Linked DNA regions of Homo sapiens: all the other regions are linked to region 2. The links are contacts of gene promoters, found by promoter capture Hi-C in human tissues and cell types (Jung and others, 2019). All regions are on one chromosome and are shown on one strand. The core of a region is centred on a gene start or on the middle of the fragment in contact, and the rest is flanking DNA. Distances in the headings are between cores, read along the strand shown. Region 1 overlaps LINC01695 (long intergenic non-protein coding RNA 1695). Region 2 holds the start of ADAMTS1 (ADAM metallopeptidase with thrombospondin type 1 motif 1). Region 3 has its middle 10 kb from the start of LINC01697. Region 4 overlaps MRPL39 (mitochondrial ribosomal protein L39). Region 5 overlaps LINC01695 (long intergenic non-protein coding RNA 1695). Region 6 overlaps LINC01697 (long intergenic non-protein coding RNA 1697). Region 7 has its middle 14 kb from the start of JAM2.

Region 1 (3,638 bases), core at 724-3,223, 1.3 Mb before region 2:
AATGCCTGGACGTCAGGCACCTCAGACCATTTGCCCATTTTACGACAAGAATTATCGAGATCTTGTGGGATGGAAAAATCGAAAGTGCCGTTCTGTGGCTATTTTAGAGCCTTTGTCAAGTTTGTATTGGGGCCAAGCGGTGTTGCAGAATAAAATAAGATGCTTAGATTTTAGGTCAGGCGAGAGTTGAAGAGGTTTTAAGTTCTTAAGAACACAGGCTAAGAGAGAAGAAGGAGGAATGGAGGGTGGAAGGTTGCCCATAGTGAAGGAGGCAAGTTTAAAGAGAAGGGTAGAGACACGGAGAAGGGGGTGGGGAGCAGCCCTGGGCTGCAACGTGGGTGAGCAGCCAAAGCAGGCGTCCTTGCAATTGACTTGCCACCAAGGGAACATGGGCGAATGATCAAGGAAGGCACCCCTGCGGAGATCAGACACCAGTGGAACGTGGGTGAATAATCCAAGAGGCATCTCGGCGATGATTAAACACCAAGGTAAGGCTGTCTTCCCGAGTCCGTGACCGGCGCCGGAGTTTTGGGTCCACAGATAAAATGTGTCTCCTTTGTCTCTACCCGAAAATGAAAGGAACTGAAATTAACAGAAGGGAGAGATTGAAGTGTGGCGCCAAGCTTGAAAGGAGAAAGAGGTTGAGGGATAGTGAGGGAGGTTGGAGAAGAGAGTAAAAAGAGGCCGCTTACTGGATTTGAAATTGGTGAGATGTTCCTTGGGCTGGTCAGTCTGAGGACCTGAGGTTGTAGGTGGATCTTTCTCATGGAGCAAAGAGTAGGACAGGGGATTGATCTCCCAAGGGAGGTCCCCTGATCCCAGTCACGGCACCAAATTTCACTCGCGTCCGTGTGAAGAGACCACCAAACAGGATTTGTGTGAGCAACAAGGCTGTTTATTTCACCTGGATGCAGGCGGGCTGAGTCTGAAAAGAGAGTCAGTGAAGGGAGATAGGGGTGGTGCCGTTTTATAGGATTTGGGTAGGTAAAGGAAAATTAGTCAAAGGGGGTTGTTCTCTGGCTGGCAGGAGTGGGAGGTCACAAGGTGCTCAGTAGGGGAGCTTTTGAGCCAGGATGAGCCAGGAGAAGGAATTTCACAAGATAATGTCATCAGTTAAGGCAGGAACAGGCCATTTTCACTTCTTTTGTGGTGGAATGTCATCAGTTAAGGCAGGAACCGGCCATCTGGATGTGTATGTGCAGGTCACAGGGGATATGATGGCTTAGCTTGGGCTCAAGGCCTGACAGGACACATAAATATGATTTTCAGGAAGAAAGTCATCAAATTTTAAATCACCCCTGAACCATGGAAGGCAAAAACTCTGGCCTTAATGTTTTAGGAAATAAACAAATAGTTTCTTAATATGCTGCTGAATATAAAATTATTTTTATTTTCTTTTTTTTCCATTCTAATCTTTAAATTTTTCTCCTTTTGCCCAAAAAGTTAACAAAGACAAATTATAAATCTTTGCATATACAAAAGGCTATCAAAATGATGGAAAAAAGGATCTCATCATTTAAGTTTTCATGATTTATGAAATATTTCAAAGATTTGCAAATAACTGACATTGTTATAATCCATAAAATAGTGTAATGCTAAAACTAGAAACCACAGAGTAATACTGTCCAGGTATGAATTCTGTATGTGCTACTTATTCATTGGTGACCTTTGACAATGTATAGCATCTCTCTAGACTCCATTTTACTCATCTGTAAAATGAAGGGTATCTTTCACATAGAGTACTCATAAGAATTAAATGCATTATAGAACAATGAAGGAAACATAGTAAATTCAATATAAGTGTTAAATAAACAGGTTCAGTGGCATTCATGTACCTGCCACCTACCCTAATTTATCCTATTTTCACATATTTGCTTTAGATTTTCTGAGCATAAAACATTACAAATATTGTTTTAGTTAATGAATTGCTTCATAATATATCGCTCCCAAAATAAGTGATGTAAAACCATAACATTTATTTTCTCACAGTTTCTGAGGCTCAGGAATTTAGGAGTTGCCTAGTGGGATGCTTCTGGCTTGAAGTCTCTCACAAGTTTGCGGCCAGAGGTGCAGTCATCTGAAACTTTCACTGGGGTTGGGAAATCGAGCTTCAAGTTTGCTCACTCACATGACTTAGCTAGGAAGCCTTAGTTTCTCCCCACATGGATCTCTCAATAGGGCTGCCTGGGTGTCCTCACAAGTCAGCTGGCTTTCTCTCCAAGTGAGTGCTCTGAGAGACAAGATGAAAACTACAAATATCTTGTATGGCTTATCTTTCTGTGTCACATCTATCATTTCAACAATGTTTTATTCCTAAGGAGTCAGTAAGGACAATCAGATTCAAGGGGAGAAAATTAACTCTGTCATTTGATGAGAAAGCATCAAATAATTTGTAAACATGTTTCAAACCACTATAAATACAATTGAGCCTCCTATTCCATCCTGACCATCCATTTCCTTTACCTCCTTCTGTAGAAGTGAGTGCTATCCTGAAGTTGATATGAGTTGCATAATCTCCCAAATCAAGCTGGGTACAGGTGACATATATGCCCAAGATGCAAATTCCCTACTGTATCTGATTGTGAGTGCCTTACACAGCCAGAGCTATTGCTGCAAATTGAGACTAGCCTCTTCTATTAGCCTGGGTATGCAGTACAATATCATTAAGTGTATCATGAAATATTAAGGTTTATCATATGTGCTATGACATAAAAACCATTTTTAAAGAAATAAATAGTTCCAGTGATCCCTGAAGCCAGAAACATTGCATCTTTAGCCCTTAAGAGAGACAGAGAGAGCAGGAAGAGTGGCAGCTTGGAGACTGTAGGTGGGAGGAAAAGGAATTGCCAGTTCAGTAAACTTTGTCAATGCATTATTCTCCCACTTCAGACTTCCGAGGGCCACATTAAATTTCATGGCATTTAAAAATACGTTTTTTAAAACAAAAAAAGTTCTATCCTAGAACTTTATTGTTGTGGTGTTACAACTTAAAGAACCAGAGAACCAGATCATCTTAAGGTAAACAACATTCTTTTGAGAAAGACACATGATGATGGGAACAAGGAACTAATTAATCTTGAGATTTAAATCAAGGAAAGAGCAATGGGTATGGTTTCTGTCACAAGGAACTGACAGGAAGTACATAGATAAGAAGGCTACTACATTTTTGACGGAAGTATATTGTGATTTTGTTGATGATTCCTGGTTGATAACTCCCATAGCCCCTTTTATACCCTTCTATTATAATGCTGGGGCACTTTAGGCCTCAGGAGCAGACCTCATGGAACAGAAACTCTCTTTCTCTCTCTGAAATTCTCCTGTCCTTCTTCCACAGGCAAGACTCTAATCTGATTGTAGTTCAAAATATTCTCATTCCATCAGGGCATGGTGGCTCACACCTGTAATCCCAGCATTTTGGGAGGCCAAGGCGGGCGGATCACTTGAGGTCAAGAGATCGAGACCATCCTGGCTAACATGGTGAAACCCCATGTCTACTAAAAAATACGAAAATTACCTGGGTGTGGTGGTGTGTGTGTGCCTGTAGTCTCGGCTACTCGGGAGGCTGAGGCAAGAGAATCGCTTGAATCCAGGAGAATCGCTTGAATCCAGGAGGCAGAGGTTGCAGTGAGCCAAGATCG
Region 2 (3,722 bases), core at 240-2,739:
TGTTTTTCAAGTAAGCAATCTCGCTAGGAAAAAAGAAGTTGGAAAGCATCCGGAAAAGAAAGCTTGTAAGAGGGACGTGTGGGAGAACTAGAAGGGACGCTTCTGGCTGGGGCCAACTGAAGTGGGGAAGATCTGGGGAGGAGCGAGGAAAGGACCCAGATCTACTTGGAGCCAACCAAGAGACCGGACGGGAGTGGGGCGGAAAGGCGGAGACCAGTTCGAGCACTAACGCGGGGGCGCGCGAGTGTGAGGGTTGCGGGTCCGCCCGGGGCTAGGGCGGTCGCTCTCGCCATTGTCCCCGCGGCTTTCCGCCTGTGAAACACGTCCTTCCTCTGGGTCCTTGAGCCCCTCCCACTTTTTGGAGAGAAGAGCCACTCAGTTTTTTTTCCTAAGGACCTGTTGGTGGACCTCTCCTCGCTTTCGTAACGCGGATATAGCCTTTTCCCTTCCTGGTAGGAAGAGGAAGGAGGGGTCCGGGAAGGAAGCCGATTTCCTTCTTTCCCCCTCTGCACGCTTGCTAGCCCCAGCGATCGCTGCTGGCCCCCGGGTAGGAAAGTGGGGTTCCTGGCCGTTTCTGCGACGCTGGCCTAGGGCTTGCAGCTGCTGTTGAGTGAAAGCACGCAGACTGGCGGGAGCCGATCATTTCTCGAATGAAGAAGAAAAAGCGCAATTCCCTCCTTATGCTCTAGGGAATTGAGCCGCGTCCCAGATCACCCATTCCAGAAATGTGAAACCGGGCCCTCACAAAGTCGTCTCTGGTGAAGAGGTGGCGTGCGGGGTGGGGGTTGGTGGAGGGTGAAGGCATAAGCAAACATATTTTAAAATCCAGATCGTAGGAAGTGTCACCTGGCCCCTCACCCAGGCATGCTTTCTGGGGGAAGCGCAGGGCCAAGCTTTCCCTAGAAAAGCTGGGGCGAAGAGAGAGCAGGCGGCGGCTAAGGAGCTCCTGGCAGGCTGGGAAGGTGGAGAAGTGGGGTGAGGTATTTTTCTAGAAAGTGTAGCCCTAGCTCATCTCCTAGATTGGGGAAGAGGGAACTGAGGGAGGAGGGAAGGAGACCCAGGGCAGCTCCAGGATAGGGAAATGTTGAAGAAGGGACTGCGTTCTCCAACCGAACCCTCCCTCCTGGGAACCGCAGCCCAGCGCGGTAACTGAGTTACCGCAACCGGGCGGTGGGGAGGAAGGGTGGTCCAGGAAACCGGCGAGGGAGAAAAGCGGTGGAAGGGAGAGTCTTCTCCCTGGAGCGGCCCCAGCAGTACAAAGTGCTGGTCACAGCGCCCCTTCCGCCCCTAGATTGACGAGCAGTGGCGTGGAGCCAGCGCGGAGGCTGCCCCCTCCCCCTCCCGAGCCCGCAGCGCGGAGCGCGGTTTAGCACCAACGGAGCCGGGGGCGGCGTCTTTGGGATGGAAAAGGGCCAAAGGGGAGGAGTGGGGTGGGGGTGGGGGTTTCACTGGTCCACTATAAAAGGACCGCTCGGCTGCCCGGTTCTTGCACTCGCTGGAAAGCGGCTCCGAGCCAGGGGCTATTGCAAAGCCAGGGTGCGCTACCGGACGGAGAGGGGAGAGCCCTGAGCAGAGTGAGCAACATCGCAGCCAAGGCGGAGGCCGAAGAGGGGCGCCAGGCACCAATCTCCGCGTTGCCTCAGCCCCGGAGGCGCCCCAGAGCGCTTCTTGTCCCAGCAGAGCCACTCTGCCTGCGCCTGCCTCTCAGTGTCTCCAACTTTGCGCTGGAAGAAAAACTTCCCGCGCGCCGGCAGAACTGCAGCGCCTCCTTTTAGTGACTCCGGGAGCTTCGGCTGTAGCCGGCTCTGCGCGCCCTTCCAACGAATAATAGAAATTGTTAATTTTAACAATCCAGAGCAGGCCAACGAGGCTTTGCTCTCCCGACCCGAACTAAAGGTCCCTCGCTCCGTGCGCTGCTACGAGCGGTGTCTCCTGGGGCTCCAATGCAGCGAGCTGTGCCCGAGGGGTTCGGAAGGCGCAAGCTGGGCAGCGACATGGGGAACGCGGAGCGGGCTCCGGGGTCTCGGAGCTTTGGGCCAGTACCCACGCTGCTGCTGCTCGCCGCGGCGCTACTGGCCGTGTCGGACGCACTCGGGCGCCCCTCCGAGGAGGACGAGGAGCTAGTGGTGCCGGAGCTGGAGCGCGCCCCGGGACACGGGACCACGCGCCTCCGCCTGCACGCCTTTGACCAGCAGCTGGATCTGGAGCTGCGGCCCGACAGCAGCTTTTTGGCGCCCGGCTTCACGCTCCAGAACGTGGGGCGCAAATCCGGGTCCGAGACGCCGCTTCCGGAAACCGACCTGGCGCACTGCTTCTACTCCGGCACCGTGAATGGCGATCCCAGCTCGGCTGCCGCCCTCAGCCTCTGCGAGGGCGTGCGCGGCGCCTTCTACCTGCTGGGGGAGGCGTATTTCATCCAGCCGCTGCCCGCCGCCAGCGAGCGCCTCGCCACCGCCGCCCCAGGGGAGAAGCCGCCGGCACCACTACAGTTCCACCTCCTGCGGCGGAATCGGCAGGGCGACGTCGGCGGCACGTGCGGGGTCGTGGACGACGAGCCCCGGCCGACTGGGAAAGCGGAGACCGAAGACGAGGACGAAGGGACTGAGGGCGAGGACGAAGGGGCTCAGTGGTCGCCGCAGGACCCGGCACTGCAAGGCGTAGGACAGCCCACAGGTAGAAGAATTGCTCTCGTTTGTCTGTCCATTCATCCTCCTCTCCTCACTTTATCTATCCCACGCGACTTCAGGGTAGACTCCTGCTGGCAGGCAGGATCATAAGTCCGCGGACAGAACGGAGGCCTGGAGTGGAGGAATGTGGTTTGAGGTTTGGATTGGTGAACTCAGCTAGAAAACATACTTGCATTTGCCCGAATAATGAATAACCAAGAAAAAAACTGACAAACGATTTTCTGCAAACTAAAGCAAAGCATTTAGGCCGGGGAGGGAGAGTTTGTAACCTGACTCCTTCCACCTTTAGCGAGTTGGAGCTTGTGCGAGTTCTTTCCACTCTGTGTATTTCTTTTTAATGATTTTGTGTGCGCCTTTTGTGCGGGTTGCAACGTTGCGCTGAGTTTTGTAACCGCTGCCTGTGCGTGCATCCTGCGCTCACGGGAGGGCGGATGTGGAGAGGGCAGAGGAGCAATGGTGACCTGGGAAGGTACCCTGAGCGGCTACGCTAGGATCTCTGTTCTGCAGACTTCTGTCCCCTTTCCCCCTTATAAGGCTGACCCAGGCGGGCTGAAGGCGGTGGGGCCCCTTCGCAGAACCTGCTTGGGAGGTCTTTCCCGGGTTTGCCCCGCCTCCCAGTTTGCACTCCCTCTCGCGGCCATAATTCTGCTCTCAAGCACTGTTGAAAGTCACTGCCGGTCCTTCCTGCTACGGCCTTCTCTCTGTGCAGTGCTTATTCTCCAGTTCTTTTTGTTTCATCACTTTGGTGCCTTTTTCCTTCTTTAACTCTCTCGCGTGTCATTTTTTAAAGAATTCTCCCCTTTTCCCCTGCTCCTCTGCTCCTGGGAGCAAAGTGGTCGCAGCCCAGTTTAGGACTTTCTGCAGGGGTTGGGTCTCAGTCCGGAGTGGAAGGCTCTGTTCCAAATAATCAATCATGCCTGGAAGCTGGAACTTATTTCGCTGGGGCAGTGGGAGTGGGGCCAGAGGCTGCTGGGCAGAGTGGGTGGTCCTTGTGCCCGGAATTGGCAAGAGCGGAGCACCCCAGGGACCCCTGGA
Region 3 (3,615 bases), core at 825-3,324, 1.2 Mb before region 2:
CTCCTGTAGAGACAGAGCTGAAATTGTGGAAAAACAGACACAAGCTCTTATGTGAGTGGCTGAACTGCAATGAAAGGTGCATGCACAGCCTCACCAGGTGTCTACTGTTAAAGTGAGGGCATTAATTGGAAAAGAATAAGACCCTGCAACTTGGAAGGGGAATGTGTGGGAGGACTCTGATGAAGGTGGGCACACTGAGATTGTCAACTCTGATGAACACTTTTTGCCAGAAGAAACAGCTTCTCCATGCCCAGTAGTGGCAACATCCCCTCCCCAGTCCATGCTTCCATCAGCCTTTCCACCTTTGTCTGAGGAGATAAACCCTGCGCTGCCTAAGGCAACAGTGATGGCCTCCCCTGAGGCAGTCGTCAGGCAAGATAATGTTGATTCTCCTCAGGAGCCACCCCCAACACCCCTGTTTGCTTCTGGGCCTATAACTAGTCTAAAGTCCCAGTTGGCCCCCCCTAAGGGGAGGTTGAGAGTGTGACCTATGAGGAGGTGCACTACACTCAAAAGAACTGCTTGAGCTTTCTATTTATATAAGCATAAATATGGAGAACAGGAATGGGAATGGATATTAAGGGTATGGGATAATAGTGGAAGGAACATAGAGTTGGATCAGGCTGAACGTATTGATTTAAGCCCACTAGGTAGGGACTCTGCATTTAATGTTACAGCTTGGGGAGTTAAAAAATGGTTCTGATAGTTTATTTGCTTTGTTGGCTGAAATATGGATTAAAAGATAGCCTACTGTGAGCGAGCTGGAAATGCCTAATTTCCTCCCTTGGGTTAATGTAGAGGAAAGAATCAAAAGGCTTAGAAAGATTGGGATGATGGAGGAGATTAGTCACTTTACACCTACCTATCCGAGCTGGGTGGGTCCAGAAGATATATTCTTGGCCAGTGTTTTGTGAAATAGACTTGTGAGAGCAGCACCTGCATCTTTGAAGAGCCCTGTAATTGCTCTTCTCTGTATATCAGATCTAACAGTGGGAACTGCAGTCACTCAACTACAAAATTGAAATACAATGGGAATACTTGGATCCTGAGGTGGCAGGGGCCAAGTGGCAGCACTAAACCATCAAAGGCAAGGTGGGCATAGCTATTATAATGGACAGCAGAGGCAAAGCAGCAATTAAATAGTGCAAACTCGTGTAGAGCTCTGGTATTGGCTAATCGTGATGTTCCTAGAAATGAAATTGATAGGAAGCCTACTGAATTCCTGCTTAATTTATATAGGCAGAAAACATCCAGGTCAAATGGACAAAAGACTAATTTGAATGATAAAAACAGAGAACCATGGCCCCTCAATTAATTTCCAGATTGGAGCCAGAACCAGAACCCCTTGAATAAAGGGGAGGCCAGGTCCCTTTGATCAAGAACCCCACTATACTACTGACAATTTATGCTGTTATTCTTTCTCCCATTCTTCCCCGAGGAGGCTTCTGACCTGTTACCAGGGCAACTGTGCATTGATGAAAGGGAAATGATTAGACGTTTCAGGGACTATTAGACACTGGCTCTAAGCTGACGTTGATTCCAGGAGACCCAAAATGTCACTGTGGTCCTCCAGTTAAAGTAGGGACTTATGGAGGTAGTAATTGATAGAGTTTTAGCTCAGGCCCTACTTACACAACTCCAGGGGGTTCCCAGACTCATCCTGTGGTTATTTCTTCAGTGCCAGAATACATAATTGGCATAGACATACATAGCAGCTGGCAGAACCCCCACATTGGCTTCCTGACTGGCAGGGTGAGGGATATTATGGTAAGAAGGGCCAAATGGAAGCCATTAGAGCTGCCTCTATCTAGAAAAATCATAAATCAAAAATAATATTGCATCCGTGGAAAGATTACGGAGATTAGTGACACCCTTAAGGACTTGAAAGACGCAGGGGTGGTGATTCCCACTACATCCCTGTTCAACTCTCCTATTTGGCCTGTGGGGAAGACAGATGAATCTAGGAGAATGACAGTGGATTATTGTAAGCTTAACCAAATGGTGACTCCAATTGCAGCAGCTCTACCAGTTGTGGTTTCATTACTTGAGCAAATTAACACGTCTGCTGGTACCTTGCATGCAGCCATTAACTTGGCAAATGCCTTTTTCTCTATTCTTGTCCATTGGAAGCAATTTGCCTTCAGCTGGCAATGTAAGTATACCTTTATAGTAAATATACCTTTACTGTTCTACCTCAGGGGTATGTGAACTCTCTGCCTTTGGATCATAATCTTATTCAAAGAGACCTTGATCACTTTTCACTTCCACAAACATATCACACTGGTTTATTACATTAATGACATTATGCTGATTGGACCCAGTGAGCAAGAAGTAGCGAACATACTGGACTTATTGGTAAGACATTTGCATGCCAGAGGATGGGAAATAAATCTGACTAAAATTCAGAGACCTTCTACCTCAGTAAAATTTCCAGGGGTCTAGTGGTCTAGTGGTGTTGGACATGTTGAGACCTTCCTTCTATGGTAAAGGATAAGTTGCCGCACTTGGCCCTTTCTACAAGCAAGAAAAAGGCACAACACTTAGTGGTTTTGTGCCTATTTGGATTTTGGAGGCAACACATTCCTCATTTGGGTGTGTTATTCTTGCCCATTTACTGACTGACCCAAAAAGTTTCCAGTTTTGAATGGGGACCAGAACAGGAGAAGGCTCTGCAACAGGTCCAGGCTGCTATGCAAGCTGCTCTGCCACTTGGGCCATATGACCCAGCAGATACAAAGGTGCTTGAGGTGCCAGTGGCAGATAGGAATGCTGTTTGGAGCCTTTGGCAGGCCCCTATAGGTCAATCACAGCAGGGGCCTCTAGAATTTTCTAGCAAGGCCCTGCCATCTTCTGCAGATAACTACTCTCTTTTTGAGAGACAGCTTGTGGCCTGTTACTGGGCTTTGGTGGAAACTGAACTTTTGACTATGGCACCTCTGGTTAGCTCTCTTCTAAGCCGAGATTAAGTCCTTGATTTTGTTCCCAAAGAGAGAAAGAAAAAGCAAGGAGAAGAGTACAGTGAGTTTTAGGAGTCTGACCTGTAAATGGCCTGTATTTTTCCTTCCCACATTTCAACAACTACTGCTCAGTCTCATGACTAATCTATCTGTAAAGAGATAAATTCAGAAGCACAAAGCTAGCCTAAATATTAGAATGCCCCCTGCAAATCTCTGCCACATTAGCCCCCTGCTTTCCTCAGAAAGGCCAGGAAAACTTTTTCTGGCTACCCTGCTTACAAGAGCAACACTTCCTAAATTAAATGTTGCTCAGTGATCTTCAATCCTGCTTGTTTGTTTGCTGGTTTGAGACAGAGTCATGCTCTGTCACCCAGGCTGGAATGCAGTGGTGCGATCTCGGCTCACTGTAAGCCCCACCTCATGGGTTCAAGTGATTCTCCTGCCTCAGCCTCCCAAGTAGCTGGGATTACAGGTGCCCAGCACTATGCCTGGCTAATTTTTGTATTTTTAGTAGAGACGGGGTTTCACCATGTTGGCCAGGCTAGTCTCAAACTCCTGACCTCAAGTGATCTGCCCGCCTCGGCCTCCCAAAGTGCTGGGATTACAGGTGTGAGCCACTGCGCCCGGCCTAATCCTGTTTTTTTAATGCCCCTGGATA
Region 4 (3,918 bases), core at 1-2,500, 1.2 Mb after region 2:
GTTTTCTCTTTAATAATTAGTATTAATGAAGGCTGACACCTTAATTACAGGTAAATAAGAAGTTTTATAGTTTATGGTCCAAAACTTCAGTTGTTGCAAATTAGTAACTTTCTGTTCTAACAAATTTGATTTTATCTTTTATTTTAGTTGGATTTGCAGTACTAAGCATAGAGTTTTGTTTCAACTGGCTTATGGAGAAATGCTTTTCAGTGAATTGTTACTAAAGGTTATTACTTTCATTTTTAAGGAGAACTTACGTTCCTTCACAAAAGATGCTCATGCTTTAATTTATAAAGATCTTCCATTTGAAACTCTGGAAGTTGAAGCAAAAGTGGCATTGGAAATATTTCAACACAGCAAGTAAGTGTTGGCTTTCTTTAAATCAAGGCTAACTCTCCCAGTATTATATGTAATAAAGAAAATTCAGGTCTTAAAAATTTTTATATTTGATATACATGTGACAGTGTATTATTTTCCAGTCTGAGACCTCTGTGATCTCATTTATTTCGCTGAGGAAAATGTTACCCATGTCCCTTGATAATTTTCTCACTTTGTTTTACTTCTCTGTTCTTGGACCAGCCTTTCTCATTATATCAACATAGTGGCATGTTTCCCTTTTTTCTTTCTAGTGTGAAGTGATAATGTACGTTAAGCGACTATATAATTGTGTGTATTTGGCAGTGTTTCTCTCCTACCCCTCCACACTTAAAATGACACTGATAAGATTGAAAATGCAAGCAGTTTGGGAGGGGGCTGACAGCTGAAGTAAAATGTTTACACAGCCAGGTCTTAATCTTCTGCATGTGAATTATTCATTTGATGGATTTTCTTTAACATTTTAATTCCTGCCTGGCTTCTCAGTTCTCAGAAAACTTTCAGTTCACCTTCTACTACCAGTTGTAAGAACATGAGCTAAATTTTAACATTAATCTAATACAATATTAGAACTAACTAGAAAGAGAAACCTGTGCTGTAAAAAAAAAAAAATAACAGAGTCTGAAGCCAAAATATGCACCTAAGAATTGTGAAAGTTTACTGATTAGAATTTCTTTAGGTATATAGAAGTTGAATTACAAATTCTCATAGGGATAGGTTATCGTAAATATATTGGGTTATGAGTGTGTTTTTGACACATACTTTATAGCTTGGCATTTCTCAAAGCAGTCTGTCTTATAGTATTCTTCTATAGGATGTTAATTGACATGTGAAACCATGTACTGTGTTAAGCTGAGTTTGAAGAACAGTGGCTTAAAAAATTTTACTCGGCTGGGCGCGGTGGCTCACGCCTGTAATCCCAGCACTTTGGGAGGCCGAGGCGGGCAGATCACGAGGTCAGGAGATCGAGACCATCTTGGCTAACACGGTGAAACCCCGTCTCTTTTAAAAATACAAAAAATTAGCTGGGCGTGGTGGCGGGCGCCTGTAGTCCCAGCTACTCAGGAGGCTGAGGCAGGAGAATGGCGTGAACCCGGGAGGCGGAGCTTGCAGTGAGCCTAGGTGGCGCCACTGCAGTCCGGCCTGGGCGAAAGAGCGAGACTCCGTCTCAAAAAAAAAAAAAAAATTTTTACTCATCGCACTCAACGGTCTCCCAAAGTGGACATTGAAAATTTCCCAAATATATTTGCCCATGAAACACTTTTTCTTGAAACATTTTTAGCGTGTCCTGGAACCAGTGGATTTAGAAACCAGTTGTAATGTACTGTTTTAACTAGAGTACAGATAGTATTGTAGAACCAAACCACCATTTATAGCATTGATTCGACAAGAAAATTCTTTGGACTATCTGAACACGTGAAGTCACTCTCTGTGACAAAAGTCTAGGCACATGCTGCCCAAAAGAAATATAATATGAGACATCTGTATAATTTGAAATTTTCTGTAGTTGCATTGAAAAAAAGTCAAAACAAAAGTTGAAGTTAATTTTAATGATTTTATTTAAATGATACATCTAAAATGTTACTCAGTGTAATCAATATTAAAATATTGATGTTATTTTATATTCTTTTTCACTAAATCTTCAGAACCTGGTATGTGTTTTACACTTAAGGCACATTTTAACTAGTACTAATCACATTTAAGTGCACCATGGTACTTTACTGGACAGTGTACTTTTGACTTCCATTCAGTACACATTGAGATTTCCCATTCCTCTAACTGTCAAGGACTGGTAGCGGCTTCTGGGACTTTTGTAACTTAGTTGAGTGTGTGGTAGGAGGAAGGGGATAATTCTGGAGGAAGCTTGATAGGACAAAAGAGTTGGTTCATTGAAGGTGGGTCAGTGATTGAGTCCTTCTGCTGCAGGAGTAAGGGTGGGACCTTTTTGTGGCTTTGACTCTCAGGGGACAGGAGCATCTCTTGGAGGTGGGTCAGGAGGGATAAGTATTCAAGGGAATTGGCACCCTTATTAGTGCCTGGGGGACTGTAGCAGTCAGTGGGTGTTTTTGCATAAACCAGTGTTCCCTAACTTTGCCACATAATTGTGCATACACCTGTGGTGCACCTACACATATTACTTGTTTAGCACCCTGAGGTAAACAGACAAAGCTCTCAATAGTAAATGGTAAAGTCATGGTTTGAACCTGGGCTGTGCAGTTTCATCTGTGCCTTTAGCTATACTGACAGAATTGGGTAGATTTGAGAGATACTGGGCAGTCAAATTGACAACTTGATAATGAATTGAATAAAGGAGATATGGTAGGAGAAAGGAATCAAGGAAATCTCCCAGGTTTTTCACATGGACACCTGGGTGGTTGGTGGTATCGTACTAAGACAGGAAATTCAGGAGGAAGAACAAGTTTGGGCGGGGAAAGAGGTGGTAATTTGTGCAGTTTGCAAATTTCAGGGTAAGGTGCTTGTGGAACATCCTAGAGGATGTCCAAATGGGTCTTGGATATACAGTTTGGTGGTCAGAAGAGGTAGGTAGATTAGAAGCAGAGATATAGGACATACAACTACATAAGTTGTAGCTCAAGGGGCTGACCTAGGGAGGATGCTTAGCGTGAAAAGAGGGTGTAGGATAGAATTCTCAAAGGGTAGAGAAAGACAGGAGTGGCCAGAGATGTAAAATAACAAGCAGTAAGGAATGCCACTGATACCCATGGAAAGAGCACTTTGAGGCTGGATGTGGTGGTTCATCGCTATAATCCCAGCATTTTGGGAGACTGAGGCAGGAGGATTGCTTGACACCAGGAGTTTGAGACCAGCCTGAGCAACATGGCAAGACCCTATCTTTACCAAAAAAAGTTAGCCCGGCATGGTGGCTCACACCTGTAGTCCCAGCTACTTGGGTGGCTGAGGCAGGAGGGTCGCTTGAGCCCGAAGTTTGAGACTGCAGTGAGCTATAATTATGCCACTGCATTCCAGGGTGGGTGATAAGAGTAAGACCCTGCCTCAAAAAAAAAAAAAAAAAAAAGAACAAAGAAATAAAAATGGAAAGAAAGAACACATTGAGAAGTGGAGGTGAGCATTGGTATTAAGAAAATGAGGACCAAAAAATGTCCACTGGGTTGACACCAAGCAGGTCTGTGACTTTGTTGAGAACAGTTTGGCAGAGTCATGGGGCTGTGGCCAGATTAAAGGGAGGTTCCAAGTGTAACCTACTCTCAGAAAGTATGGCTGAAGAGGAAGAGAAAGGGAGGTATCTTTAAACACCTTTTTACATATTTTGAGTTAAAAAAATGTTTTTTTCTTTGCTGCTTTTCAGGTACAAAGTAGATTTCATAGAAGAGAAGGCATCTCAGAACCCTGAGAGAATAGTCAAGCTACACAGGTAAGTAAAAGTCTAAAAACTGGCTGCTATGTTAGAGTAAGGCTTAGCTTTATTGTTATCTGAATGAAGCATATGACCAAAAAAGATGAATTTGTGTCTTATTTTGTTCTTATTACCTTATTTTTGGTTGCTTCGTTCATTGTTTTGTT
Region 5 (3,592 bases), core at 525-3,024, 1.3 Mb before region 2:
CTTTGGGAGGCCGAGGGAGGGGTGGATCACGAAGTCAGGAGTTCAAGACCAGCCTGGCCAAGATGGTGAAACCCCATCTCTACTAAAAATACAAAAATTAGCCAGACGTGGTGGCGGGCGACTGTAATCCCAGCTACTCTGGAGGCTGAGGCAGGAGAATCGCTTGAACCCGGGAGGTGGAGGTTGCAGTGAGCCAAGATCACACCACTGCACTCCAGCCTGGGTGACAGTGTGAGACTCCATCTCAAAAAAAGATAATAAATAAATAAATAAATAAATAAATAAATAAATAAATAAATGAAAGTCATTGTGAAGGCAGTTATGAAGATGTCTGAGAGAAAGTGATGTCAGGAAAAACCTTCACATGAAAGGAAATCTCAGGATTTTTTTCCAGATATTGAAAGCACAAAGGATAAAATCTTGAGAGTTGGTCCAAGGTTAGATAGGAATATGAGAAGTTGTCAATGCATAGAAAAAAATGCTCACTCTGTATCATTTGTTATAAATAAGAAGTAGAGGACAAAAACTGTTGATAGATTTTATTTATATTTTAAAATAAGTATAGATTCACAGAAAGTTTCAAAAAACATACAAGGAGCCCCCATGTACCCTTCACCTAGACTCTGCAAATGGTAACATCTTGTATGACAATAAACATAAAAACATATATAAACATGTACATATGCAGTTCTATGCAATTTTAGCACACATGTAGCCTTCCGTAGCCACGACTCCAATCACAACAGTTCCAGCAGCATAGGAACCATGCTTCCTTTATAATCATACCCACCTCTTTCCCCCGAAACAACTAAGTCCTATGACCATTAATCTATTCTCCTCCTCTACAATTTTGTAATCTTGTGACTATTTTATAAATGAAAATATACAATTTGTTACCTGTTGAGATTGCATTTTTTTTCATTTAGTATAATTCCCTTAAAGTAATACCCAACAATTTCCATCCAAGTGTTGAGTGTATCAACAATTTATACTAAGTTTTTTACAAAGAAGTAAAGTACTTCAACCTCAATGTTTCAAGTGTTTTAAATTAAAGAGTACTAGGTAAGACTAGTTTTATTACCTTTTAATTCTTTGTAAATTTATAACCAACAATAAGAGAGATTGTAAAGTCTTGACAAACATCATTAAAGATTACGGTACAATTATAATTTTTCCCATTGATTATTAAAATCACTTTTCATGGTTTCAGTTTGTACAGTCCATTTGCATACTACTTTGAGGAGGGTGAACTTTCTGTAGCATATATGTATGTGTATGTATGTATGTACCTCTTTATCTATATGACTGAGATATATGTATATATACATTACTGAAACAAAGTTTTCATGGGCAATAATTTTTACATGCATTTGTTTTCTATTGCTGCCATTGAAGTTACCAAAATATTAGTCGTATAAAACTACAATAATTTATTACCTTGTTGTTCTATAGGTCAGAAGTCTGACAAAAGTTTCACTGAGCTAAAATCAAGGTATTAGTGGGATTGCATTTCTCTTCAGAAGATCTAGGGGAAAATCTCTTTCCTGCCTTTTCCAGCTGCTAGAAACCAACCACATTTCCTGGTTTGTGGCCCCTTCCATCTTTAAAGCAACCAATGGCGAATAGAGTTCTTCCCACACACCAGGCTTCCCTGGTTCACTGACAACAGGGAAGCCTGGAAAGGTTTTCTGCTTATTAGGACTGCTGTGATGAGATTGGGACCACCTTGACAATAATCTACTCATATCAAATTATTTAATCGTAATCACGCCTGCCATATATGTTAACCTATGTATAGGTTCTGGGAACTAGGACATGTACATCACTGGGGGATTTTTATGCTGGGTAGGACATTCCACTTTCTAAACTCTAAAGATTTAAGACTATCTCACCTACAAAATTCATTAACCGAAACCAAGTTCCGCAGAATTCTGGACTCACTACGGCACCAACTCAGCATCCAAAATGTCACCTCACCCACTCAAAAGCTTCAAATCACATAACCTAAATTATTTAATTTATGCATGAGGAAAGCTCTGGTATAATCCATTCTGAGGTACAATTTCTCTTTATTGTGAATCTTTGAAAGTGAAAACATAAGTTACCTGTTTCTGAAATATGATGGTAGGGCAGGCATAGGATAATAGTTACAGACAGTCCTGTTTTCAAGAGGGAGAAAATCCTAGGTAAAAAAACAATCACTTGTCCCAAGCCATTTCTAGATTCTGCTAGAGAAATTAGGTTCCTAGATCCAAGACTAATACGATGTTGCTTTTAGCTTTTCCTTCTAAACCTGTGGCTTCCTCCTCTGAGTCCTTTCATGTATATGAAAAGTGGCAGATCTTTGCAACTGAGTAGCTGTGTAAGCTTCTTTCCTGCCAGAATTTTGGAGGTTTAATAGTCTTCTTTAATTTCGTATTTTCTCTGTTCCTTTCAATACAGACTGACAGTGTTTCTCCTGATATAAAATTCTCAAGAACCAAGTGGGTCTCCCATGTATGCCACAGGGGTTCACTCCATAATATGAGACTCTTTCAGAGATCTTTCTTAGATAATCAGTCTTCTATTTTTGCCTTCTGCTGAGATATGTGAGGGACAGTAACCTTAAGCTTCCTCGATGCTCTTTGGTTTGATTGAGGAAATCTAATCTCTTCAAAGAGCCCTTTATATTTGAGTACTTTTGATCTTTTTGAGGCATTAGCAAATTGCTGAGGTATAAAAACAGAAGGTTACTACAGCCGTGTCCTAGGCTTTTTCTTTAGATTATCTATCCCTGTTACTGAGTTTCTTTATTTTAATATCTTTTGCAGTCTGAATAAACTGAGAATTTCCAAAATCATTATGTCTTGGTTTCTTTTTGTTTAAACGGTTCTTTTCTCAAATTATCTCTTTCTCATTGCATTTTGCTATGAGAAGAAACAAGAAGCCAGGCGGCTTCTTCAACCCTTTGCTTGGAAATATCCTTACTTACGTATTCAATTTCATCATTTACAAGTTCTATTTTTCACCTGAACGTAGGACAACTTTGCTAAGTTTCTACCGCTATATAATATGGAAATTCTTTCTTCAAATTTTTAATGTGTTTTTTATTTCCTTCTAAGCCTTCACCAATAGTACTTTTTATGTCCCTATTTTTACTAAGTCTGTTCATGCTGATTCATGTATGCTCTAACGCAGTCTATGCCTTCTCTACCATGCTCTTCTCTTCACTTTCTTCTAAGTCCTTTCTAGCAGAATCATTAACAACCACATTTCTACTAACAATGTGTTCAAAACAATGTAAGTTTTTCTCGGATGACCTTCAACATTCTCTTAGCCTCACTCACTGCCGAATTCCAAAGCCACTTTGACATTTTATAGATATTTGTTACAGCAGTATATAACTCTCAGACATCAAAATTTGTATGAGTTTCCTAATGTCGCCATAACAAATTACCACACATGCATGCAGTGACTTTAAAAACACAAGCAGCTGGCAATACACTCTTCCTAGCAATGCTTCCTAAACAGAATGGACAGTATTCCCTCAAGTTTCAGCTGAAGTCCACCTGCTCCAAGGGACAGAAGCAACAGTGATTTTCTCTTCTGTCCA
Region 6 (3,590 bases), core at 571-3,070, 1.3 Mb before region 2:
GATAGGATTTTTCCACTCAGTAATATGCATTAAGCTTCCTCCATTTATTTTTTATTTTTTGCTTGATAGCTTCTTCTTTCCCCTAAGTTGAATAATAGTTCATTGTCTGGATATACCATTGTTTATTTCTCCGTTCCTCCACTGAAGGAAATCTTGGTTGTTTTCTAGTTTTGACAATTAAAAATGAAACCGTTACAGGGTGTGGTGACGCAACCTGTAGTCCCAGCACTTCGGGAGGCCGAGGTGGCAGATCACTCGAGCTCAGGAGTTCAAGAGCAGCCTGGCAAAATCCCGTGACTCCAGAAGTATGAAAATTAGCCGGGCGTGGTGGCGCACACCTGTAGTCCTAGCTACTTGGGAGGCTGAGGTGGGAGGATTGCGTGAGCTCGGGAGGTTAAGGCTGCAGTGAGCTGAGATCGCACCACCACACTGCGGTCTGGGTGACAGAGTGAGATCCTGTCTCAAAAAACAAAATAAAATATAACAAAACTGGTATAGACATTCATATGTAGGTTTTTGTATGGATTTGGTATGATTTTTATTGTTAAAGTTTAGTTTTTATGTTTTAGAGTTATATATATATATGAATCATTTAATTTGTATGCTTATGTGTTTGGCTCCTTTTCCTCAGCATAATGTTTTAAGATTCCTCTATGAATCAGTTGCATATATCAGGAGTTTTTTCTTATAGTTCAGTAATATTCCATTATGTGAATATAGTATAATTTCTTTATCTCTTCAGCTGTTAATGGACATTTAGGGTGTTCAGTTTGGGGATATTTGAAATGTTATGAACATTTTTGTACAGATCTTATGATACATACATTTTTATTTTTCTTATCAGAATGATATTACTGAGTCATGTGATATTTTTATTTTTAACATTATGTAAACTGTTTTAAATAGAACAATTGTTTTCCAAAGTAGCTGTGCTATTTATACCTTCAGTCAAAATATACAAAAGTTTCTTGTTACTGCACATAATCTCCAACAGAAAGGACTTATGGTAAATCTTTAACAAATTTTAGTCATTCTACTCCCTGTTGGTGGTATCTTTTTGTGGTATTTTTGAAAGAAATTGACTTTTATTGAGATATGATTTACATATAATTAAATGACCACATTAAGAGTACACTTTGATAAGTTTTGCTAACTGTACATATCAATGTAACCACCACAATTGAAAATTAGATCTTTTTTATCTTCTCAAAGTGTTCCTTTATGCTCTTCTGTAGACAATCTTCCCCAGTCCTCAACACAGGCACCAATGGATATGAATTCAGTCATTGTCGACTGGTGTTCTGCCTGTCCTAGATGTCACGTAAATGGATTCAAATAGATGTGTGCTCTTGTGTCTGACTCCTTTTGTTCAGCGTGGTGCTTTTGAGATTTATCTGTGTCATTTGGGGTATCAGTAATTCATATCTTTTATTTCCAACTAGGGTTGTGTGATTATACCACAATGTCTTTTGCAAATTAGTTGTTTCATTTTATATATTTTATATGTATCAGCAGTTTATGAGTTATAAATAACTTTTCTTTATAAATTACCCAGTTTCAGGTAGTTCTTTGGTGGTGTTTTCCTGTTGCTCTCCGTTCTAACACCTGATATTGTTGGTCTTACTTTTAGCCATTTTAGTACTAGATGCTCCCCGACTCACGATGGGGTTATGCCCCAATAAATCCATTGTTAAGTTGAAAATATCACAAGTTGAAAATGCATTTTTAATACACTTTAACTATCAAACGTCATAGCTTAGCCTAGCCTACCTTAAACAGGCTCACAACACTTACATTATTCTACACTTGAGCAAAATCATCTGGCAACACAGCAAACTGTAGAGTATCTCTTGTTTACTCTGGTGATCTTGTGGCTGACTGGAAGCCTTAGCTCCCTGCCACTGTCCAACATCCCAAGAGGGTTTTCTACTGCTTTCTACTGAATGTGTATTGCTTTTGCACCATTTTAAAGTAAAAAAAGTTATATGTCAAATCATCAAAAGTTGTTTTGATGAGATTTTCTGTTTGTGTAGTAATATTTCACTTTAGTTATAATTTCTGTATACCTGACAGCCAATTATATTGTGTATGTTTATATTTATTTACTTATTTCATACCTTCTTGTATGAAATTGTTGTCCAAATTTTTTGTCCAGTTTCTAAATCACAGTTTACTTTCTCATTATTAATATGTTTTTTATTTTTATTTTTTATTATTTTTGTTTTTAGACGGAGTCTCTTCTCTGTCGCCCAGGCTCGAGTGCAGTGGCGCAATCTCTGCTCACTGCAAGCTCCGCCTCCTGGGTTCACGCCATTCTCCTGCCTCAGCCTCCCGAGTAGCTGGGACTACAGGCGCCCGCCACCACACCTGGCTAAGTTTTGTATTTTTTTAGTAGAGACGGGGTTTCACCGTGGTCTACATCTCCTGACCTCGTGATCTGCCCGCCTCGGCCTCCCAAAGTGCTGGGATTACAGGCGTGAGCCACCGCACCCGGCCAAGTTTTTTCTTTTGTAAAATTTGAATATATAAGTCCCATATAAGGTCAATTTATTCTTTTTTCTCGCATGGTCAGTGCTATACAAGATGATAAAGATATATGCCTACCTTTTCTTTTGTTAAGTTTATATTTCAGCTCATATGTTAAATCTATAATCCATTTTGAGTTAATTTTGTAGATGGGGTGAGGTAAGAATAGATACACAACTTTTAGGCTGATATTCAGTTGTCCTAGCACTAGTTTATTGAAGATACTTTTTTCCCCATTAAATGTCCTTGAACTTTTTCAAAAAAGCAATTGACTATATGTGTTTGGGTGTTGATACAGTTTGAGTCTGTGTCCCCACCCAAATCATGTCAAATTGAAATCCCCAATGTTGGAGGTGGGGCCTGGTGGGGAGTGATTGGTTCATGGGGACAGATTTTCCCTTTGGTGTTGTTGTTATGACAGCGAGTGAGTTATGAGATCTGGTTGTTCAAAAGTGTGTAACACCTCCCCACTCTCTCTTCCTCCTGCTCTGGCCATGTAAGACGTGACTGCTTGCCCTTCACCTTCCGTCATGGTTGAAAGTTTCCTGAGGTCTCCCCAAACATGCTTCCCATACAGCTTCCCAACTGTGAACAAATGAAATCTCTTTTCTTTATAAATTACCCAGTTTCAGGTAGTTCTTTACAGTAGTGAGGGAACAGACTAATACAGTTATATCCTGTTCCATCTTTTTTCTAATGCTTTGCTGCATTGTCTTATAACACAGCTTTATAATCTTAAAATCATAACCTGTAGGCCCTCAAAATCTTTTCTTTTTAAAAATTATTTTGGCTATTGAAGGTCCTTTGTGTTTCCGTATAAATTTGACAATTGTCTGGTTGATTTCCTCAAAAATTCTTTTGGCTTCCAAAATTTGAAAGCAGCCTAAGTGTTATCAAGAATTGAATGGATAAATAAAATGCAGTACAGATACACAATGGAGTACTATTCAGCAATAGAAAGAATGAAATCCTGTCATTTGCAACAACATGGATGGAACTGGAGGTCATTATGTTAAGTGAAATAAGCCATACACAGAAAGACAAACTTCATATATTCTCACTTT
Region 7 (3,929 bases), core at 1,391-3,890, 1.2 Mb after region 2:
CGGAATTCTATACCTAAAATAACAGCATCAGCTGCATTCTTTCGTCTTTAGAAATCTTTGAGAAGATGTCAGAGACCATGGATAAACTTGATCTCCCTTGCTACAATGAAAATTGGATGTACAAGAAACAGAATGATGCATTTTCACTTCCAAAGATTTAGAAATTCCGCTGTGTTCTTGGATCTGCCCCCTTTAAGCCAGGTGGATGATTTTAGTCTTTCTGGAATGCTCTTTTAGGCCCTACTGAAAAGTAGCTTACTGGAACAGCAGCAGATTAATGTTTAGTTTCATAACTGATATTCTGTTAAGTGACAACATTCTGTCTACCCCACTAGCCAAGATTTCTGTTTCTCAGGAGAAGTCAAAGAAGGAGATATTTTCTTGTATCACAGCCTTTAAAATGATTCCTTGTTTCACAGAATGATAAGGCTGGCCATGCACCTTATAGATGGGAGTGCTCCTGGGAATGGGACCAGTTTTGCAAGATATTTTCTTCCTTGAAGCTTAGCATTATAAAGAAGGCCAGGCTGTTGATTCCCTGAAGCTAGACGTCATCACAGAGACAGAAGTTCAAATGCTTGTCTGTTGGCTTGGAGCCAGGGCACACAATGGCAAGGAACAGCAGAGGCTTTGAAAATGCCCCTTGGGGTGGATGATGTTTAACAAGCAGGATGCAGGGTGAGGGCCTGTGGCGGAAGTGACCATCCTTGTCATTCCTTCCTAGGATAGGGACTCAACATCCTGGAGCACTAAAAATCAAAGGTAGAGATATACTGGCCATTCCAGAAGCAAAAAGCTTTTCCCTCAGACCCAGTCTCTGAGAAGCCACCTAACACCTCTGGAACTTTGGTTCTTTGTATACAGAAAATGGGACTGAGATATGTGATCTTAAAGGCATTTTCAAATAGAAAACTACACTGCTCTTATGTTTGAGTCTGCAAATTCAGAAACAAAGATTAAGCAATTAAAAAAAATTTTTTGGGGGGACAGAATCTCATTCCGTCTCCCAGGCTGGAGTGCAGTGGCAGGATCTTAGCTCACTGCAACCTCCACCTCCCAGGTTCAAGCCATTCTCATGCCTCAGCCTCCTGAGTAGCTGGGATTACAGGCGTGCACCACCATGCCTGACAAATTTTTGTACTTTTAGTAGAGACAGAGTTTCACTATGTTGGCCAGACTAGTCTCAAATTCCTGGCCTTAAGTGATCTGCCCGCCTTGGCTTCCCAAAGTGCTGCTATTACAGGCATGCGTCACTGCACCTGCACCCGGCTGGATTAAGCAATTCTTTTTTTTTTTGAGATGGAGTCTCCCTCTGTCTCCCAGGCTGCAGTGCAGTGGCACAGTCTTGGCTCACTGCAACCTCCACCTCCTGATTCAAGTGATTCTTCTGCCTCAGCCTCCTGAGTAGCTGGGATTACAGACATGTGCCACCACACCCGGCTAATTTTTGTATTTTTAGTAAAGACGGCATTTCACCATGTTGGCCAGACTAGTCTCGAATTCCTGGCCTTAAGTGATCTGCCCACCTTGGCCTCCCAAAGTGCTGGGATTACAGGCGTGAGTCACCGCACCCAGCCAGATTAAGCAATTCTCCTAATAGCAAAACCATATACTAGGGCTGGAAAGATGTCAAAATGGTAAGCGACCTGGACTCAGCTACTACAGCTATTTTTTTCTTTACTGCCCCCGGCCACTGAACTGGAACACATTTTCTCCCTGTCTCTGTTTAAAGTGTAATAATTATTATTATTATTTTGAGACAGAGTCTTGCTCTGTGGCCTAGGCTGGAGTGCAGTGGCGTGATCTTGGCTCACTGCAGCCTCCGCCTCCCACGTTCAAGCGATTCTCGTGCCTCAGCCTCTTGAGTAGCTGGGATTACAGGCGTGCACCACCATGTCTGGCTAATTTTTTTGTATTTTTAGTAGAGATGGGGTTTCACCATGTTGCCCAGGCTGGTCTCAAACTCCTGACCTCAAGTGATCCACCCGCCTCGGCCTCCCAAAGTGTTGGGATTACAGGTGTAAACCACCATGCCCAGCCTAAAGTATACTTAATTTTATTGTAGTGGGTCAATAATGTTAGAATAGAAAGGGATATAGGGAGACAGAAGAAAGAGATGCCTTAATTGGGGGATATAAATTGGGGATTCATAAGATCATCTGTTTCTTTTCTCTCTTCTGATTCTCCTTTTATCACTTTTTTCTACCCTCCCTTCCCTCTTTCTGCATTTAAAAGCACCAAAATATTAACTGAGATTCTTAGTTAAGAAAGAGCTACTGTTATTTAGCGAAATCTTTCCACAGCATTTTTTTCAGTGAGGAAGGATTTGGCTTTTGGCCCAACTTGACCACAGTTTATCAATGGTTTATGATGAAAGAGAATTTAGCTTTCTACTGTCAAGGCTTTTTTTGAAACACCAAAGAATAAAGCCTCAGCTGGTACTTGGAACAATTCTAGCAGGTTCAAGTTCTTTTCTTGACCTTTGCTATTAGGAGAAAAAGCAATAGGAAGAATAATGGAAGCTTTTTGCTACTGGAAATCCCTGTAGTTTTAAACTCAACAGTTTTAGTTAATTAAAACTCATCTTTTATAAAAAAGTTACTTAAAAAAAACATACGCACTGTAGAATTAGAAGTGAAATGTCATACTATCCATAATTTATATTAAAATACTTCAGAAAAATAAAGAAGCAGCAAAATGTGGCAAATTGCTAACCTATGTGCTGTAGTTTGTTCAGGTTGCTATAAGGAAATACCATAAACTGGGTGGCTTATAAACAACAGGAATGTATTTCTCACAGTTCTAGAGGTTGGGAAGTCCAAGATCAAAGGGTTGCCAGCAGATGCAGTGTCTGGCTAGGGCCCATTTTCTGATTCACGGATAATGCCTCTCACCGAGTCCTTACACCGTGGAAGGGGAGAGGGTGCCCTCTGGCTCTTTTATACGAGCTCTAATCCCATTCATGAGGGATCTACCCTCATGACCTAATCACCTCCCTAAGGTCCCATCTCCTGGTACCAGCACATTGGGGATTAGGTTCCAACATCTGAATTTTGGGGAAACACAAATATTCAGACCATAGTACTAGGTGTGAGTATCTAGAATTTGTTACACTATTTTTTCTGCTTTTTCTGTATGGTTGAGATGTTTCACACATATTTCAAAATTTCACATACATAAAAAAATTAATAAGTTAACCTCATCTTCATAAATAAGGGCCCAAGTATATTGAGTTAATTCTATACCCTCTTCCCTGCACTAACTTGCTGGCTCTTCAAAATAGCAAAAATAGAGAAAATCTCTTTATTGTGTTCCTGGGTCCACTTATTCACTTGATCCAAGAGAAATGATCACTATTAAAATAAGTTTAACTTTAAAGAGGTCTTGACTGAGAGTTGAAAGTCCAATTTATTGGGGAGAAAAACAGAAATTTGTGTTCTTTCTTGTTTTTATCTTGCTCTGTCCAACTGAATCTAAGGTCCCTGCTTTTTAGAATAGAAGAGCACAAGGAAAGAAGCAGAGGAGCTAGCAGGGTGAAACTCCACGGGCCGTTTCCCTTGCTTGCTTAGGAGAAGTAAATAAAATTAACCTTTCTCACACACACAAACAAAATACACTCAGGTCTAAGTTGGAAAAGTAATACTGATGACTTTTAAGAAAGAAACTTGGGGTATTAGTGAGGACTTGAGAGAAAGGGATGGGGAGACTTAAACATTGGTTTTAGGGCCTATGCCTATTTTTTTCTATTCACACTAAGTTACACTTAATGTTTTCCAACTGAGCAGGGGACTGAACTCTCAACCAGTGCTTCTCAGGCTTCAACATGCATCGGAATCAACAGAGAGTCTTGTTAAAATGCAGATTTGGATTCAGCAGGACAAGGTGAGGCTGGGATCCTGCATTTCCAGCAATCTCCCAGGTGCTGGTGA

Evidence for each region. The method cuts DNA at HindIII sites, captures the fragments that hold promoters and counts their contacts. A contact is called where the count stands out against the background at its distance.
Region 1: a contact is called between a fragment that was not itself captured here and the fragment with the promoter of ADAMTS1 in region 2, in 1 of the 25 tissues and cell types used here (mesendoderm cells).
Region 3: a fragment that was not itself captured here is called in contact with the fragment with the promoter of ADAMTS1 in region 2 in 2 of the 25 tissues and cell types used here (dorsolateral prefrontal cortex and mesenchymal stem cells).
Region 4: a contact is called between a fragment that was not itself captured here and the fragment with the promoter of ADAMTS1 in region 2, in 1 of the 25 tissues and cell types used here (dorsolateral prefrontal cortex).
Region 5: a contact is called between a fragment that was not itself captured here and the fragment with the promoter of ADAMTS1 in region 2, in 6 of the 25 tissues and cell types used here (H1 embryonic stem cells, IMR-90 fibroblasts, dorsolateral prefrontal cortex and 3 more).
Region 6: a fragment that was not itself captured here is called in contact with the fragment with the promoter of ADAMTS1 in region 2 in 3 of the 25 tissues and cell types used here (dorsolateral prefrontal cortex, hippocampus and mesenchymal stem cells).
Region 7: a contact is called between a fragment that was not itself captured here and the fragment with the promoter of ADAMTS1 in region 2, in 1 of the 25 tissues and cell types used here (dorsolateral prefrontal cortex).

What each region holds. Positions count from the first base shown.
Region 1 is chr21:28,159,042-28,162,679 of GRCh38, reverse strand. All of the region lies in intron 5 of LINC01695 (long intergenic non-protein coding RNA 1695), which reads left to right. Among named protein-coding and RNA genes, the nearest start is that of LINC01695, 68 kb to the left of the region's middle. The HindIII fragment of the contact is 7,950 bases long and covers 1-3,638 here.
Region 2 is chr21:26,843,176-26,846,897 of GRCh38, reverse strand. It overlaps ADAMTS1 (ADAM metallopeptidase with thrombospondin type 1 motif 1), which reads left to right and starts at 1,489. Exons shown (of 9, transcript NM_006988.5): 1 at 1,489-2,673. The coding sequence starts at 1,944. RefSeq lists enhancers at 105-704, 705-1,305. The HindIII fragment of the contact is 5,494 bases long and covers 479-3,722 here.
Region 3 is chr21:28,036,414-28,040,028 of GRCh38, reverse strand. No RefSeq gene overlaps it. Among named protein-coding and RNA genes, the nearest start is that of LINC01697, 10 kb to the left of the region's middle. The HindIII fragment of the contact is 3,864 bases long and covers 143-3,615 here.
Region 4 is chr21:25,593,744-25,597,661 of GRCh38, reverse strand. It overlaps MRPL39 (mitochondrial ribosomal protein L39), which reads left to right. Exons shown (of 10, transcript NM_017446.4): 6 at 248-360; 7 at 3,704-3,769. Among named protein-coding and RNA genes, the nearest start is that of MRPL39, 12 kb to the left of the region's middle. The HindIII fragment of the contact is 7,524 bases long and covers 1-3,918 here.
Region 5 is chr21:28,138,445-28,142,036 of GRCh38, reverse strand. All of the region lies in intron 5 of LINC01695 (long intergenic non-protein coding RNA 1695), which reads left to right. Among named protein-coding and RNA genes, the nearest start is that of LINC01695, 88 kb to the left of the region's middle. The HindIII fragment of the contact is 3,850 bases long and covers 1-3,592 here.
Region 6 is chr21:28,116,483-28,120,072 of GRCh38, reverse strand. The region is part of intron 2 of LINC01697 (long intergenic non-protein coding RNA 1697); the gene reads right to left. LINC01695 (long intergenic non-protein coding RNA 1695) reads left to right here. Exons shown (of 6, transcript NR_126012.1): 6 at 199-3,590. Among named protein-coding and RNA genes, the nearest start is that of LINC01697, 70 kb to the right of the region's middle. The HindIII fragment of the contact is 6,644 bases long and covers 1-3,590 here.
Region 7 is chr21:25,623,640-25,627,568 of GRCh38, reverse strand. No RefSeq gene overlaps it. Among named protein-coding and RNA genes, the nearest start is that of JAM2, 14 kb to the left of the region's middle. The HindIII fragment of the contact is 3,979 bases long and covers 651-3,929 here.